Regions from separate parts of the Homo sapiens genome. Here regions 2, 3, 4 and 5 are each linked to region 1. The links are contacts of gene promoters, found by promoter capture Hi-C in blood cells and fetal thymus (Javierre and others, 2016). All regions are on one chromosome and are shown on one strand. Each heading gives the region's core, a stretch centred on a gene start or on the middle of the fragment in contact. The rest is flanking DNA. Distances are from core to core; before and after follow the strand shown. Region 1 holds the start of METTL13 (methyltransferase 13, eEF1A N-terminus and K55). Region 2 overlaps ZBTB37 (zinc finger and BTB domain containing 37). Region 3 overlaps DARS2 (aspartyl-tRNA synthetase 2, mitochondrial). Region 4 overlaps RABGAP1L (RAB GTPase activating protein 1 like). Region 5 holds the start of RC3H1 (ring finger and CCCH-type domains 1).

Region 1 (2,700 bases), core at 41-2,540:
ACGCATGCCAGTTTGAGAATCACTTTTTTAAACCAATGTTTAAGTCCAATCTAACCTACTTAACTATTAACAGTCTACCTGGCTATCTACCTGTGGTAGTGTAGTATGTAACAGCCCACAGCACACATGCTCAATTCCAAGCCTATCTGCTCTCCGCAATCAGTATATTCCTCCTGCAATTTATCATGGTATGAAAGGCCCAGTGATACACATATTTGGTCATTTTCAAATAGTGCCTGCCAGCATAGTGGCTCACACCAGTCATCCCAGCACTTTGGTAGGGTGAGGCGAGATGATCATTTGAGCTCAGGAGTTTGAGAACAGCCCGGACAACATGGCGAAACCCCATTTCTACAAAAAAAAAAAAAAAATTAGCCAGCGGTAGTGGCGTGCTACTTGGGAGGCTGAGGTGGGAGGATCCCCTGACCCCTGGAAAGTGGAGACTGCAGTGAGCCATGACTGCACCACTGCACTCCAGTCTGGGCGACAGAGACAGACCCTGTCTGAAAAAAAAGTGCCCTTCACAGAAGCTTCCTCAGGGTATTAGCATGAGCATGTGAAAGTACAGTATGTTTATCAAACACATAAAATAAGCAGTTATAAATAACGTCAGAATAACACAAGGAGGCCAATTATCAAAATGAAAGGCTAGTTTTGCATGCTGTGCTTTGCGGAGAGAAGGAAGAGGGAGTTTTCATGTTATTACACTTTTGATAGCAGAATCCTATATTTTGGTGCAGAGGTGGCAAAATAAGGCGGGGGGTGCTGGTGCGCAGAAGCTGACAAGGTTAGAATGTGCAGCGTTTTTACGACGGACTGGCTTTACTCATTTCCTGCCTCACTTCTCTCCTATCTGTATAGGTTTTTCTTTTCGTCCTCCTCTACCAGTACGCTCCCGCCTGCCGCGCTCCGCCCTTGTGCGGCGCACGATCGGAGTCAGTGATTAAGCCGGCTCCAAGACAAAGCGGAGGCCGAGCCCAGGAAGCAAGCGCGCTCTCCGCCCCGCCTGGAGGGAGGGCCCAACCACAGCACAGCCGCGCTCACTCCTCACCCGGACGTGACCTAGTTCTCACAGAGGCCCGGCCTCTTCCGCCACAACTCCGGCCCGCGGTCCCGCCCCGTTCCGTGAATGGTCGGCCGGCCTCAGGTCAAAAAAGCGTTTAGGTGTCTGCGACGGAGCCTCCGGAGAAAGGCAAGCACGTCGCAGCCAATGAGGTGATAGAAACGCAAAGCAGCGACCAATGACTAGCTGAGTTGGGCTGGGCCGGCCGACGAATCACGAGGCTTCGCACCCGGATATGGTTATGGGCTCGGAAATCTAGTTCGGGAAAAGTGTGAGGGGCTCTTCACGTGGGGAAGGAACAGCAGGCGCGGAGGAGGGGGCAAGCGTGTGTGAGATTCAGTGGTCCATGCGTGCGTTTGTCGTGTAAGGGTCATTCCTGGGGTTTGGAGTGGGGGAACAAATCAATGTGGCTGTTTTTCCGTGGAAAGAATTCCCACTGCAGTGTCCCGGAGCCTGCGTGTGGTGGGCAAGCTCCTCAAATGGTATCTCACAGGGAATAGGGGAGTCTTGAAAACGCAGCTTCGGCAGTAGGAACATGAACCTCTTACCTAAAAGTTCCAGGGAGTTTGGCTCCGTTGACTATTGGGAGAAGTTCTTCCAGCAGCGAGGAAAGAAAGCTTTCGAGTGGTATGGAACCTACCTGGAACTGTGCGGGGTGCTACATAAATATATCAAGCCCAGGGAAAAGGTGAGGAGCGCGGGTTGGTAGCCCTTCGTACGTGCTCCGGAAGGTGGGAACTGGTAACAGGAATCTTGCACTTGGTGGACAGTGACAGGCGGGAGGACCCTAGTTGGACGCATATTTCAGCATTTCCTGCATTGTTCCTGCTAAAAGACAAACTAGAATATTCTTTCAGGCCGGGCGCAGTGGCTCACACCTGTAATCCGAACACTTTGGGAGACCGAGGTGGGAGGATCGCTTGAGCCCTGGAGTTAAAGACCAGCCTGGGGAACATGAGACCTCGTCTCTACAAAAAATGAAAAAATTAGCCGGGCGTGGTGGCGCGCATCTGTATTTCCAGCTACTCGGGAGGCTTAGGCGGGAGGATCGCTTGAGCCCAGGAGGTCGAGGCTGCAGTGAGCCATGATCACGCCACTGCACTCCAGCCTGGGTGACAGAGTGAGACCCTGTCTAAAAAAAAAAACATTTCTTTAAAGGTTTTCAGATAATAGACCTCCCACCCCAGCTCATTCTTGGATTAATAACCCTACTTGAAGAGTGACTTCCCATCTTGAAAGTATGTTCTTCTGTCACTGTGCATTCCTGTGCAACCTGCAGCAGGTGTGACTTTGTGTATGAATTTGTTTTTCAAATAGTCGTTGAGTGCGCCCCAAGTTTCAGGCACTGCTCAGTCCTTAAACTATAAGAGCATTAAGACGTAAACCCTGCACATGTTCCAGAAGTGAAACGTGATAAGTACAACAATGGGTTTGGTATAGGTGAGATTGTACTGGAGGTAGGGAAGGAGGAAGGTAGAAAACTTAACATTTGTGGGGAAGCTTTATGTGCCAAGCCTTATGTTGGGTGCTGTGTATGTGCATGTGCAATCTTTGAATTCTCATCATAAATTCAGGTGAGTGGCCATGCATACATTTTACAGATGAGGAAACTGAGGCCCCGAGAGCCACTTTTTTTT
Region 2 (2,700 bases), core at 145-2,644, 2.1 Mb after region 1:
TCCCCCTATTTCCGGGATCACATGTCCTTGAATGAGATGAGTACAGTCTCCATTTCAGTCATCAAGAACCCTACTGTTTTTGAACAGCTCCTTTCTTTCTGTTACACAGGGCGGATATGCCTGCAACTGGCAGATATCATCAGCTACCTAACAGCTGCCAGTTTTCTGCAAATGCAGCATATTATAGACAAATGTACACAGATCCTGGAGGGCATTCATTTCAAAATTAATGTGGCTGAGGTTGAAGCAGAATTAAGTCAAACAAGGACAAAGCATCAAGAGAGACCTCCAGAGTCTCACAGGGTTACACCAAATCTCAACCGCTCCCTTAGCCCACGACATAATACCCCAAAGGGAAACCGGCGAGGTCAGGTTAGTGCTGTGCTGGATATCAGAGAGCTAAGTCCTCCTGAGGAGTCCACCAGCCCTCAGATCATTGAACCAAGTTCTGATGTAGAGAGCCGGGAGCCCATTCTTCGGATCAACCGAGCAGGACAGTGGTATGTGGAGACAGGAGTGGCGGACCGTGGGGGTCGGAGTGATGATGAAGTTAGAGTTCTTGGAGCAGTACACATCAAAACTGAAAATCTGGAGGAGTGGCTTGGGCCTGAGAATCAGCCTTCTGGAGAAGATGGGAGTAGTGCAGAGGAAGTAACAGCCATGGTGATTGATACCACAGGCCATGGTTCTGTAGGACAGGAAAATTATACTTTAGGGTCTTCAGGAGCCAAGGTGGCTCGGCCAACAAGCAGTGAAGTTGACAGGTAGGTTTGGTTTGGTTTGGTTTTCCCATGTAATGGCTATTGTGTAGACATCACTAAAGTGTCCTCTGTAGTACAGAGAGCATTTTCCTTACCTGATTTTCTTGGTCAAAATAAGTTGATGATGGGGAAACTGGAGGTGTGCCAAAAGACTTGCATTCTTATTTTTTTAAACCAGGAAGCTCCATTCCTGAAGTATTCACAATGTTGTGAGAACTGTGGTAAAGTTAGACACTTCCGTGAATCAGAATAGCATCTGCAGCCACACTAGGATAGGATCAGTAATTGCCAGGGCTTCCTCGGGATTCGAGGCAGGGAGCCGATCATCAGCTGGGAACCTAGCAGCATTGCCCTTCCTTGGTGTGTTATCACACAGGTAGGTGGCCTCCAGGAGTCTCACTTTCCTTTGTAGCACTGCTTGCTTTTCTTTGCCCCCAACTACCAAATTAGAGGAAGTATGGTACCAGCAGTAATTGTTCTTTTCAAATTAGTAAAATAGTAATTCTGAAGAAAAGCGTTATGGATATTTTTCATCTCTTTTTTCCCTTGTCACGTGATGGTATCTTCCCTGTTTTCTTTCATGGATGACTGCTGCTACCACAGGCCTGACAATCTCCCTTTTTTTCACCAGTGCTGCTATGCCCCATGCCTCACTTTTCTCTTTTAATACATTGTATTTATTAGACATTTCTTTTTGGTGGAAATACCATGGGTTTCAGTCAATTGAGAGAAAGTCTCAATTGAAAGAAATATTACTAATTTAGATTGGTAATATTTGTTCTTTTTCCCTCTTAAAAATAAATTTAAATTGACTATATGAGCAAAGAAAACTAAAAAACTATTACTTTGGTCTTGAGAAACAAATGTATCACAGAGATTCAGTTAGTGTATACTGTATCCACTTCAGGTGGTCTTTTTATTTTATTTTATTTATTTTATTTGAGACGGAGTCTCGCTGTGTCGTCCAGGCTGGAGTGCAGTGGTGCGATCTCGGCTCACTGCAAGCTCTGCCTCCCAGGTTCACACCATTCTTCTGCCTCAGCCTCCCGAGTAGCTGGGACTACAGGTCCCTGCCCCCATGCTCAGCTAATTTTTGTGTGTGTGTTTTTAGTAGAGATGGGGTTTTACCATGCTAGCCAGGATGGTCTCGATCTCCTGACCTCGTGACCCACCTGCCTCAGCCTCCCAGAGTGCTGGGATTACAGGTGTGAGCCACTGCGCCCGGCCTTATTTTATTTTATTTTTGAGATGAAGTCTCACTCTGTTGCCCAGGTTAGAGTGCAGTGGTGCAATCTTGGCTCACTGCAGCCTCTACCTCTTGGGTTCAGGCGTTTCTCCTGCCACTGTGCCTGGCTTCAGGTGATCTTGATTTGAGTATTGTCTTCCTGTGTCCTTATTAAAATAATCTTGAGCATAGAACTTGTCCTCCTATGTTAGAACTGTATCAGAAGTTCTCGGGTGATGGGTGCACCAAAATCTCACAAATCACCAAAGAACTTACTTATGTAACCAGATACCACCTGTTCCATGATAACTTATGGAAATAAAATTTTAAAAAAAACTATCAGAAGTAATATCAGGGCCAGGTGTGGTGGCTCACACCTGTGATCCCAGCACTTTGGGAGGCTGAGGCAGGTGGATCACTTGAGGCCAGGACTTTGAGACCAGCCTGGCCAACATGGTGAATCCCATCTCTACTAAAAATACAAAAATTAGCTGAGCGTGGTGGCACGCACCTGTAGTCTCAGCTACTGGGCCAGCTGAGGCAGGAGAATCGCTTGAACCCAGGAAGTGGAGGTTGCAGTTAGCTGGGATCACGCCACTGTACTCCAGCCTGGGCAACAGAGCAAGACTCTGTCTCAAAAAAAAAAAAAAAGTAATATCAATTTCAATGCAAAGATTTTTTAATCTCCATGATCTATATCAATAGTCTAAAATA
Region 3 (2,700 bases), core at 142-2,641, 2.0 Mb after region 1:
TGATGCTCGTCTGTAATTCTAGCTACTCAGGAGGCTGAGGAAGGAGAATTGCTTGAACCCAGAAGGCAGAGGTTGCAGTGAGCTGAGATTGCGCCACTGCACTCCACTCTGGGCAACAGAACGAGACTCCGTCTCAGGAAAAAAAAAAAAGTTTGTCCCAAGTAGGTGGATATTTTTCCCATAAGTTTAGTGACTGTTTCCTGAACCCAAATCTGAAGAGGGTTTCTGTACCTGTTCCTGATGCTGAGGATAGTATGAGAAATAGAGGTTGGATGTTAAAATGTTGGCATTTCTGGGACCTTTTGATGATTCATAGAGGTATTAAATTAGTAGTTGGAACTCTTCCAGAAAATGTTAGATTGTATCTTTTTTTAGAAAAAGACTATATTGCTATATTTCAAAAATGATCCATCAGATGTTTCTATTATGCTAAAATACTATCTTTGGATTTTACTATATGCAAAGTTTCCAAATTTAATAAAATTTTCTTAAAAGGACTTAAGCCAATGAAATTTCTTTTAATTGTTCATCTATAATAATTTTTCATTAATAAGCCATCTGTATAAGATTAATATACCAGGTAAGTAGACAATAAAAATTGAAACTGAAATAAAAAACAATCTTTTTTTTGGCAATGAGCTACATAGATAACAATTGCATGAATGTAACTAATGAAGGTACATAATTATCATAAAAAACATGAAAAATTATAATTATCATAAAAAAGAAACATGAAAAATTGCATGGATTTTTGTTTGCTTTTTATTTTGTATGCTTCAACTTTGGACTTAGAGATTTTATCTTAAAATGTTTCTTTTCCCCCCCCCCATTAATCAGGCAAAACACATTCTTGGTCCTAAGAGATTTCGATGGGCTTGTTCAAGTTATCATTCCCCAGGATGAGGTAATAGAAAATTTCCTGTTATTATCTAAAAGCTTCTTTGATGCTATTGCTGGGGTAAGCTAAGTAGTTAGATGAATATGTTAGAGGTTTTAAATTCAGAAGTTTATTGTTAATGAAAACTGAAAAATATAAGCAATGTTAAGACATAGCAAAAAGACCAGTGACCCAGTAGAATTAGGAACCCAGGATACGAACAAAAAATTTAGAGGAAAAAAATATATAAATGGCTTGTAGACATAATGAAAGTATGCCCAGCCTCACTCATAGGTAGAGAAATGTGAATTGAAACTGCATGTAATTGTCATTTTTAACACATTAGATTGACAACACACTGTGTTTGGGAAAGCAGGTGCTCAATACCTGGAGGGAGTACAAATTGGCACTAGCTGAAGGGAGAGCAATTTGGCAATATCAAAACTATAAATGCATATATCCTTTGAGCCATTAATTTCACTTCTGGTAAATTATCTTATATCTAGACTTATACAGATATAAAATGACATATGTACAAGGATATTCATTTCAGGATTCTTTTTAACGGAAAAAAATTGGGAACCACCCAGATGTCCTCCAATAAGAGACTGGCTTAAAAAATAATGTATATTCTTACAATACAATACTCTACTCAGCCGTACAAAAAAGAATGAAGAAGTTCTATTCTAATAGGGAAAAAAAAATCCAAGGAATACTGTTAAGTGAAGAACCCTGTATTCTTGAGTATACAAAAGAGCAGCTGTTAAACTCCAGCACTCTAAGTGCTGTCATCTGTATAAAAACTGGGGGAAGGATGCAGAATATACATTCAGTGTGTGTGTGTGTGTGTGTGTGTGTATTTGCTTGTATATATGTTAGGAAATGTCTCTGGAAGGATACCTAAGTATCTGGTAACATTAGGTGCTGCTGGGGGAAGGAACTGAGGGCGTTGAAAACAAGGATAGGAGGGAAGCTTTTTACTATATCTTTTTGTACCCCTTGAATTTGAAGCCATGTGACGGTATTACTGCTCAAAAAAGTATTTAATTTAATTACCATTGAAATTAGATAAAATATGACAGAGTGATATTCTGAAAAAAAAATTTTTTTAATTAAAAAATTCAAGGCCAGGCATGGTGGCTCACACCTGTAATCCCAGCACTCTGGGAGGCCGAGGCCAGCAGATTGAGTACAGGAGTTTGAGACCAGCCTGGGCAACAGTGAAACCTCGTCTCTACTAAAATACAAAAAATTGGCCAGGTGCGGTGGCTCACTCCTGTAATCCCAGCACTTTTGGGAGGCTGAGGCAGGTGGATCTCGAGGTCAGGAGTTTAAGACCAGCCTGACCAACATGGTGAAACCCCGTCTCTACTAAAAATACAAAAATTTAGCCGGGTGTGGTGGCGGGCTCCTGTAACCCCAACTACTCAGGAGGCTGAGGCAAAAGAATCACTTGAACCCAGAGGCAGAGGTTGCAGTGGGCCGAGATCACGCCACTGTACTCCAGCCTAGGCAACAGAGCAAGACTCTATCTCAAAAAAATAATAATAATACAAAAAATTAGCTGGGTGTGGTGGCATGTGCCTGTAGTCCCAGCTACTTGGGAGGCTGAGTTGGGAGAATCACCTGAGCCCAGGAGGTTCAGGCTGAAGTGAGCCAAAATTGCACCACTGCACTCCAGAGTGCACACCAGAGTGATACCCTGTGTCAAAAAAAAAAATTAAAATTAAAGAATTAGATAAAATAAAGAACTTCCATCATACTTACTGGGCAAAGTTGGTTTCTATTGCAATTTTTACTAACGCTTGTATGCCTAAGAAAAA
Region 4 (2,700 bases), core at 84-2,583, 2.4 Mb after region 1:
AAAAATTTCCTATATTGAAGGTGTAGAAGTGGGCCTGCATTCCAACCTACCATTGTCTTCAAGTGGGGTATGGATCATTATGACTGGTTAGAGGGGGTTTGGAGAATGAAGTTGTTGCTGTAAGCCTATGGGATTCCCAGGCACAGAGCTTGCTTATGTCTTAATTTTAATGAGTTCTATATTTTTATAACTCTTGACTTATATAAATGGGTCAGCCGTTGAGTCTGAGGATGACCAGCAGCCCAAGGCTATTCCAGGTGCTGGTATTTCTTTTTTTTTTTTTTTCTCTTTCTGTTTTTTTTTTTTTTTTTTTTTTTTTTAATTATACTTTAAGTTTTAGGGTACATGTGCACATTGTGCAGGTTAGTTACATATGTATACATGTGCCATGCTGGGAATTGAACAATGAGATCACATGGACACAGGAAGGGGAATATCACACTCTGGGGACTGTGGTGGGGAGGGGGGAGGGGGGAGGGATAGCATTGGGAGATATACCTAATGCTAGATGATGAGTTAGTGGGTGCAGCGCACCAGGTGCTGGTATTTCAAAGATGGCTCAGGGGTTTCTTGTGGAGATGATCTGATGAGCATTTTGCCATTACAAACAGTGGAGGCGGAGAAAGTACGGACTTGAGCCTGAGTTATGGTAAAACATACTCATTTTTAAAGGAGAGTTTTAATGCTGATATTATAGAGAAAGACATTGTTTGACTCCTAGACTTTCAGAACGGGAAATAATTTTGACTTTATAGTCAGTATTTGAATTGGGTATAAGTATGTGAACATCAGTGGACCCTAATAAGGAAGAGTTAATGAATTAAGAAGAGCTTGCATCTCTGAACATCTTCTTTTTATACTTCGTTTACTTCCCATATTGCTCTTATTCAACAGATGGGATGGCATAATTGGGTATACGAAGTTTATGCGCATGCTAACTCTTTTTTGTTATCTTTTGGTGTTTTTTGGTGTACTTTTTGGGGATTTTCCTGGGAAAGTTCTAGGCATATATTCAGTTGATTTAGAGTTAGATTTGGGCTAAGATTATTAGTATACTTGAAATTCTGAGCCTTCTTATTTTCTAAATAGCTTTTAAAGTAGAAAACATTTGCCAGTGCTGTTGGGCTTAAAAAAAAAAAAAACCCAACAACAACACAATTCTTTATAAATACTCATGAAAAATCTGGTTACAGGCTGTGTTGTGATAGACATAGTACAGCCAAAAATATATTTAAGAAAATTCTCACCCAGTTTAGTAAGCTTAAATAAGAGGAAAATAAGACAGTTTTTTTTTTTAATAAAAGGCTGATTTTCCCAGAATATGAAGCCTAACAACTGTTTGCTGTGTTATTTTCCCTGTTGCCTGTTCTAAATTCAGCAAGAACTATGCATCCCTAGTCCATGGTAAAAGCTTAGTTCCAGTAGGTGATTCTTAGTAATGGAAGTCTCATTGAGGGATGCAAGGGAATTTGATTGGGAAACATCAGGCATGGAACATTTACTTTTTACTGCTCTAATTTTCTGTGTATCTGGGTATTCAGTGGGGTGGGAACATGAGCACAAATACTAGAATTATCTGGATTTTTTTTTTATACTATGGATTTCCTCCTCTTACCCCCTACCTGCCCCCCAACCCATTGCTAAGTGAGCCATTGATAGTAGGAGTGTGTTATATCCTTCAGGTATGTAGGGCTGAACAAATGCTAAAAACCTTGGCACTTGGCTGATATTCCATAAACCAAATTCCTGCTCTGTGTAATTTGCCTTCTGGTGATATCAGTTTGTTACTCCCATTTTTGAAGAAAAATATGAATTGTGGTGAAGAGACATCTGTAACCAAGAGTAAGATTTATCAAATTATGTAGTATACATGAAGGACACCAGGAGATTGTTTACCTGAACATTTATTAAACTCATTTGACTGTGACCCACAATAAAAAATACATTTTACTACTTGATTCCGCAAGCGCACACACACACAAAGTTGAAAGTTTGGTGAAATAATATTTATCTTTTCAGGGCCCTACTGAGTTAGCTATAATGGCTTGCAAGACCAGTTGTGCATATTTCTTCCTATCTAGCTCTTTGTCCAGTGACATCATGTTGGTAGCTCAAAATTGGTCATGGTGGGAATATTTACACCAGGAAATTCAGCAAATGGTATTCTTAGGGCTTCCCTCCTCATAGGTAGTTGTTAAACATTTATAGCACCCCACTGCTTATAACACACATTGATATATTCTGTTATTTCATTTCATTTTAAAAATGCTGGGTTTTGACTTCCAAATTAATTTTACACCCAGCTAATGGATTATAGCCTACATTTAACAACAAATACAACTAGTTTAGCCTACCCTCTTAACTTTGTAAGTGAAGGAACATACTAAGAGCCTCAAGGCCAAGGTCAGATAGTGAGTTATTAGCAAAGCCAGGGCTCTGGACTCAATCTGGAGTTGTTTCTGGTGGGCTTCTTTCCTAACCTCACTTAGTGTGTATAAGGGATTGTGTTAATCAGTTTGAATAAAGATGGACCTTGACCCTGAGGACTTTATGCTTAGGTGGGGGATTAAATATGGAAACAACAGTGATAATGAAAGGCAGAAAGTAATGGGTGGTAAAAAGATAAAGATAAGGAACTATAAGAGTTTAGAGAGGAGGGAGAGATTACTTTTATTTTTGTTTGTTTGTTTGTTTTTCGTT
Region 5 (2,700 bases), core at 139-2,638, 2.2 Mb after region 1:
ACTGCAATCCAGCCTGGGTGACAGAGCAAGACTCCGTCGCAAAACAAAACAAAAACGAAATCAAATTTCAAACTCAGAGAAAAGACTGGTCTTGAACAATTTCAGGAAAAATTACTGAAACACGAGACAAGGCACAAGAAGCTCTATGGCCGGAGATGAACCACCTGTCTCCTTTCGAAGTGCTTCCTGAGGTCCACTTTATGCTAGTTAATGTTGCTTCTTATACTGCATGTTAGTAATTCAAAACGCCTAGCTGGAATAAAAGTCCTCTTTAAACATTACAGTTTGTCTCCGCGTTGCCAGTGTTTGTTTCCAGTTTCATAGGCTATTCTGGTATGTCAAGAGTTGTGTTATTACTGTTCCAAAAGAGCCCTTGTTTCAATCCACTCTCACCTGGGATGCGGGCATAACTGATGTTTATAGAACTGATACTTAGAGATGTTTAGAGAGGCGCATCCCTTACCACTCCATCCTTTACCGATAACCACATTTTATATGTTTTTGTTGCATTTAAGTTTTTTGTTTTTTTTTTTTAAAGACACCTGCACACACACAATTTTCCCATCGCCAGCAGGGAGAAGACTACCAGGCTAGATCTCCAGGGACTTCAGGGAAACAGACACCGTGAAATCCACTTGGCCAAAGAAGGGGAGCGCTTCAGGGGCTGGGGGAGGAAGCAGCCCTGAGGTGCTGGGAGGCCGAGGCGGCGCCTGTTTACAGACGCCTTCGCCCTCCCCCACCCCCACAGACTAGGGGTCCAAAAAGCAGTTCCCGTGCGCATTCCCCGCCTGGCCCAGGCCCTGGGAGTACCACAGGAGCCAGGTAGCCCTTTCGCCCCCTCCCTCTCGTCCGAGCCTCCCTTCGTCCTCCTCTCGGCCTACCTACCCCGACAGGCCCTACAGGCGGCATGCAGAGGCCTGAGGCCTAAAGGACGCCGGCCACTGACAAGCCCCAGAACAGCCGGCGGGGGCCCTGAGGAGCCTGGGGCCGGCCGGGCTGCCGCTGCCGCGGAGGAGCAGAGGGCGGGCGAGGACAAACCCTTCCCGACCACAGCTGCCTATTGTTCCCGACTGAGGCCCCGGCCGCGGCAGCCCCGCTCCCCAAGTCGCCGCCCGCCGCTCGCTCACCGCGCTGGTCCGAGCAGCAGCTCCTCTCAGCTCCGAGTCCCCGCGGCCGTCGCCACCGCCGCGGCAGCCGCCGCCGCCGCCGAGGCCACCGTTGACTCTGATTCTGTCCCAGGCCGCCGGGCCACGGCTGCCGCCGCCACCGCCAGCACCGCCTCCGGCCTCCCACCTGCTGCTGCTGAGGCTGCTCCTGCAGCAGGGGCCATCTTGTTGCTCGGCCTCCTCTTCCTCCTCCTCGTCCTCCGCCGCCCAGTCGCTCGTTGTCCTCGTCCCCTTCCTCTTCCTCAGGCTCCGGCCCGCCCCGGAGACTGGGGCGGAGACGAGGGCGAGGATCCTCCCTCAGGAGGCGGGGCGGGCGGAGGGGAGGGGCGGGCGCGGGAGCAAAGCTCTGAGTCACCGGCCACCAACGCCCGGAGGGAGACCGGCGACGCTCTCCGCCGCGACCGAAAGTCTCACACGCCCTGAGCAGATGAACCGGTCCCTCGGTCCGGTCTGCCCTCCCGCACCGGCGCCTTTGGGCTCAGCGGGCCAGTGGCCAGATGGCGAGAGTAAATTGGGGGAATTTCTTTCGTTTCCATCGAACCCCACACTACGTCTACTCTTTCGGCTTTCTCAGCCGTTGTCCCCCAACTCTTGTTTCTTTTTCACGTCTTGTCCCCCACCCCATTTTTCTTCTTCCATATTATCCAGGTTCTGGATCTCATCAGCTTTGTCCTCGTCACCCCTCTGGGAGTTCAGCCTCCTAAGGCTGTGAAACAGCCCAAAAGGCCCGGACACGCTACTCCAAAACGTCTCTCCTGGGCTGTGTGAACAATAAGAGCTATTTGGGGACGACAGGAAAAGATATGGCCCATAGAAGGGCTCCTGAAATCTAACCTTGCGACTCTTTAAAAGTTTCTTGTCCCTTGTGGAAAAGGTGCCGTTTTGGTTTTGGGGAATGGGAGGTCCCTTCAGACAATTCATTTTAGCCAAACCCTCGCTTTTGAGAAGGGGAAGAAATGGGATTATTGTAACACCATACAGTACTAATTTCAAAATAAATCATCTAGAATAGAGGAGAGAGAGAGTCCCCAAATAAACAACCATTTAATACCTCTACTCGGCGCTATCACCTTTTTTGCTTCAGGATTTGACCAAGAGAGCAGAGATTATGTTTTTCTGTCCTTTCTTCACTGTTTACATCACAGTACCCCAAGAGAAGCACTTCTGCCTTTAACTTGATACATTGGAATCGCTATCACAGATAGTGTTTTTGTATTATTTTTAAGAAATATCACACACCTTCCTAAACTCTTGGCAGAGAAGAATTCTTTTTAGTTGTTAGCACCCTCCTGCTACTGAGATCTCAGCTTCTGTTTAGAAGACCTATTGTTGTCTTTCCACTGATTGGAATTTGCTGCCTCTGAACTGGGTTTAATCTGTAATCGTCTTTTCAGCCTACTAAATAGTAACCCCAGTCCTACAGAGAGTGAATTTCTAGCTACCACAGGGGGATTTAGGTTAGCATGTGCCAATCTAAAGGGATCTCTTAAAGCCTTTCCCTTCTCAGACCAGGCCTCTGTACCCTGCTAGGAAA

What was found. Contacts are between HindIII fragments. The CHiCAGO score rates a contact against its expected background, and 5 or more counts as called.
Region 2: a fragment that was not itself captured here is called in contact with the fragment with the promoter of METTL13 in region 1 in 5 of 17 cell types (fetal thymus, non-activated CD4 T cells, total CD4 T cells and 2 more); the score reaches 12.8 in fetal thymus.
Region 3: a fragment that was not itself captured here is called in contact with the fragment with the promoter of METTL13 in region 1 in 6 of 17 cell types (fetal thymus, non-activated CD4 T cells, naive CD8 T cells and 3 more); the score reaches 13.5 in fetal thymus.
Region 4: a fragment that was not itself captured here is called in contact with the fragment with the promoter of METTL13 in region 1 in 4 of 17 cell types (total CD4 T cells, naive CD8 T cells, non-activated CD4 T cells and 1 more); the score reaches 9.5 in total CD4 T cells.
Region 5: the fragment with the promoter of RC3H1 here is called in contact with the fragment with the promoter of METTL13 in region 1 in 6 of 17 cell types (fetal thymus, non-activated CD4 T cells, total CD4 T cells and 3 more); the score reaches 11.9 in fetal thymus.

Annotation. Positions count from the first base shown.
Region 1 is chr1:171,780,370-171,783,069 of GRCh38, forward strand. It overlaps METTL13 (methyltransferase 13, eEF1A N-terminus and K55), which reads left to right and starts at 1,291. Exons shown (of 8, transcript NM_015935.5): 1 at 1,291-1,751. The coding sequence starts at 1,599. RefSeq lists enhancers at 980-1,274, 1,104-1,637. The HindIII fragment of the contact is 1,150 bases long and covers 529-1,678 here.
Region 2 is chr1:173,870,385-173,873,084 of GRCh38, forward strand. It overlaps ZBTB37 (zinc finger and BTB domain containing 37), which reads left to right. Exons shown (of 5, transcript NM_001122770.3): 3 at 1-764. Among named protein-coding and RNA genes, the nearest start is that of ZBTB37, 3.4 kb to the left of the region's middle. The HindIII fragment of the contact is 2,862 bases long and covers 1-2,700 here.
Region 3 is chr1:173,827,496-173,830,195 of GRCh38, forward strand. DARS2 (aspartyl-tRNA synthetase 2, mitochondrial) reads left to right here. Exons shown (of 17, transcript NM_018122.5): 3 at 838-904. Among named protein-coding and RNA genes, the nearest start is that of CENPL, 4.0 kb to the left of the region's middle. The HindIII fragment of the contact is 914 bases long and covers 935-1,848 here.
Region 4 is chr1:174,162,484-174,165,183 of GRCh38, forward strand. All of the region lies in intron 1 of RABGAP1L (RAB GTPase activating protein 1 like), which reads left to right. Among named protein-coding and RNA genes, the nearest start is that of RABGAP1L, 4.3 kb to the left of the region's middle. The HindIII fragment of the contact is 151 bases long and covers 1,259-1,409 here.
Region 5 is chr1:174,020,969-174,023,668 of GRCh38, forward strand. It overlaps RC3H1 (ring finger and CCCH-type domains 1), which reads right to left and starts at 1,389. Exons shown (of 20, transcript NM_172071.4): 1 at 1,128-1,389. It overlaps RC3H1-DT (RC3H1 divergent transcript), which reads left to right and starts at 1,515. Exons shown (of 2, transcript NR_187284.1): 1 at 1,515-1,672; 2 at 1,815-2,222. RefSeq lists enhancers at 15-134, 199-738 and silencers at 945-1,264, 1,375-1,624. The HindIII fragment of the contact is 5,810 bases long and covers 1-2,700 here.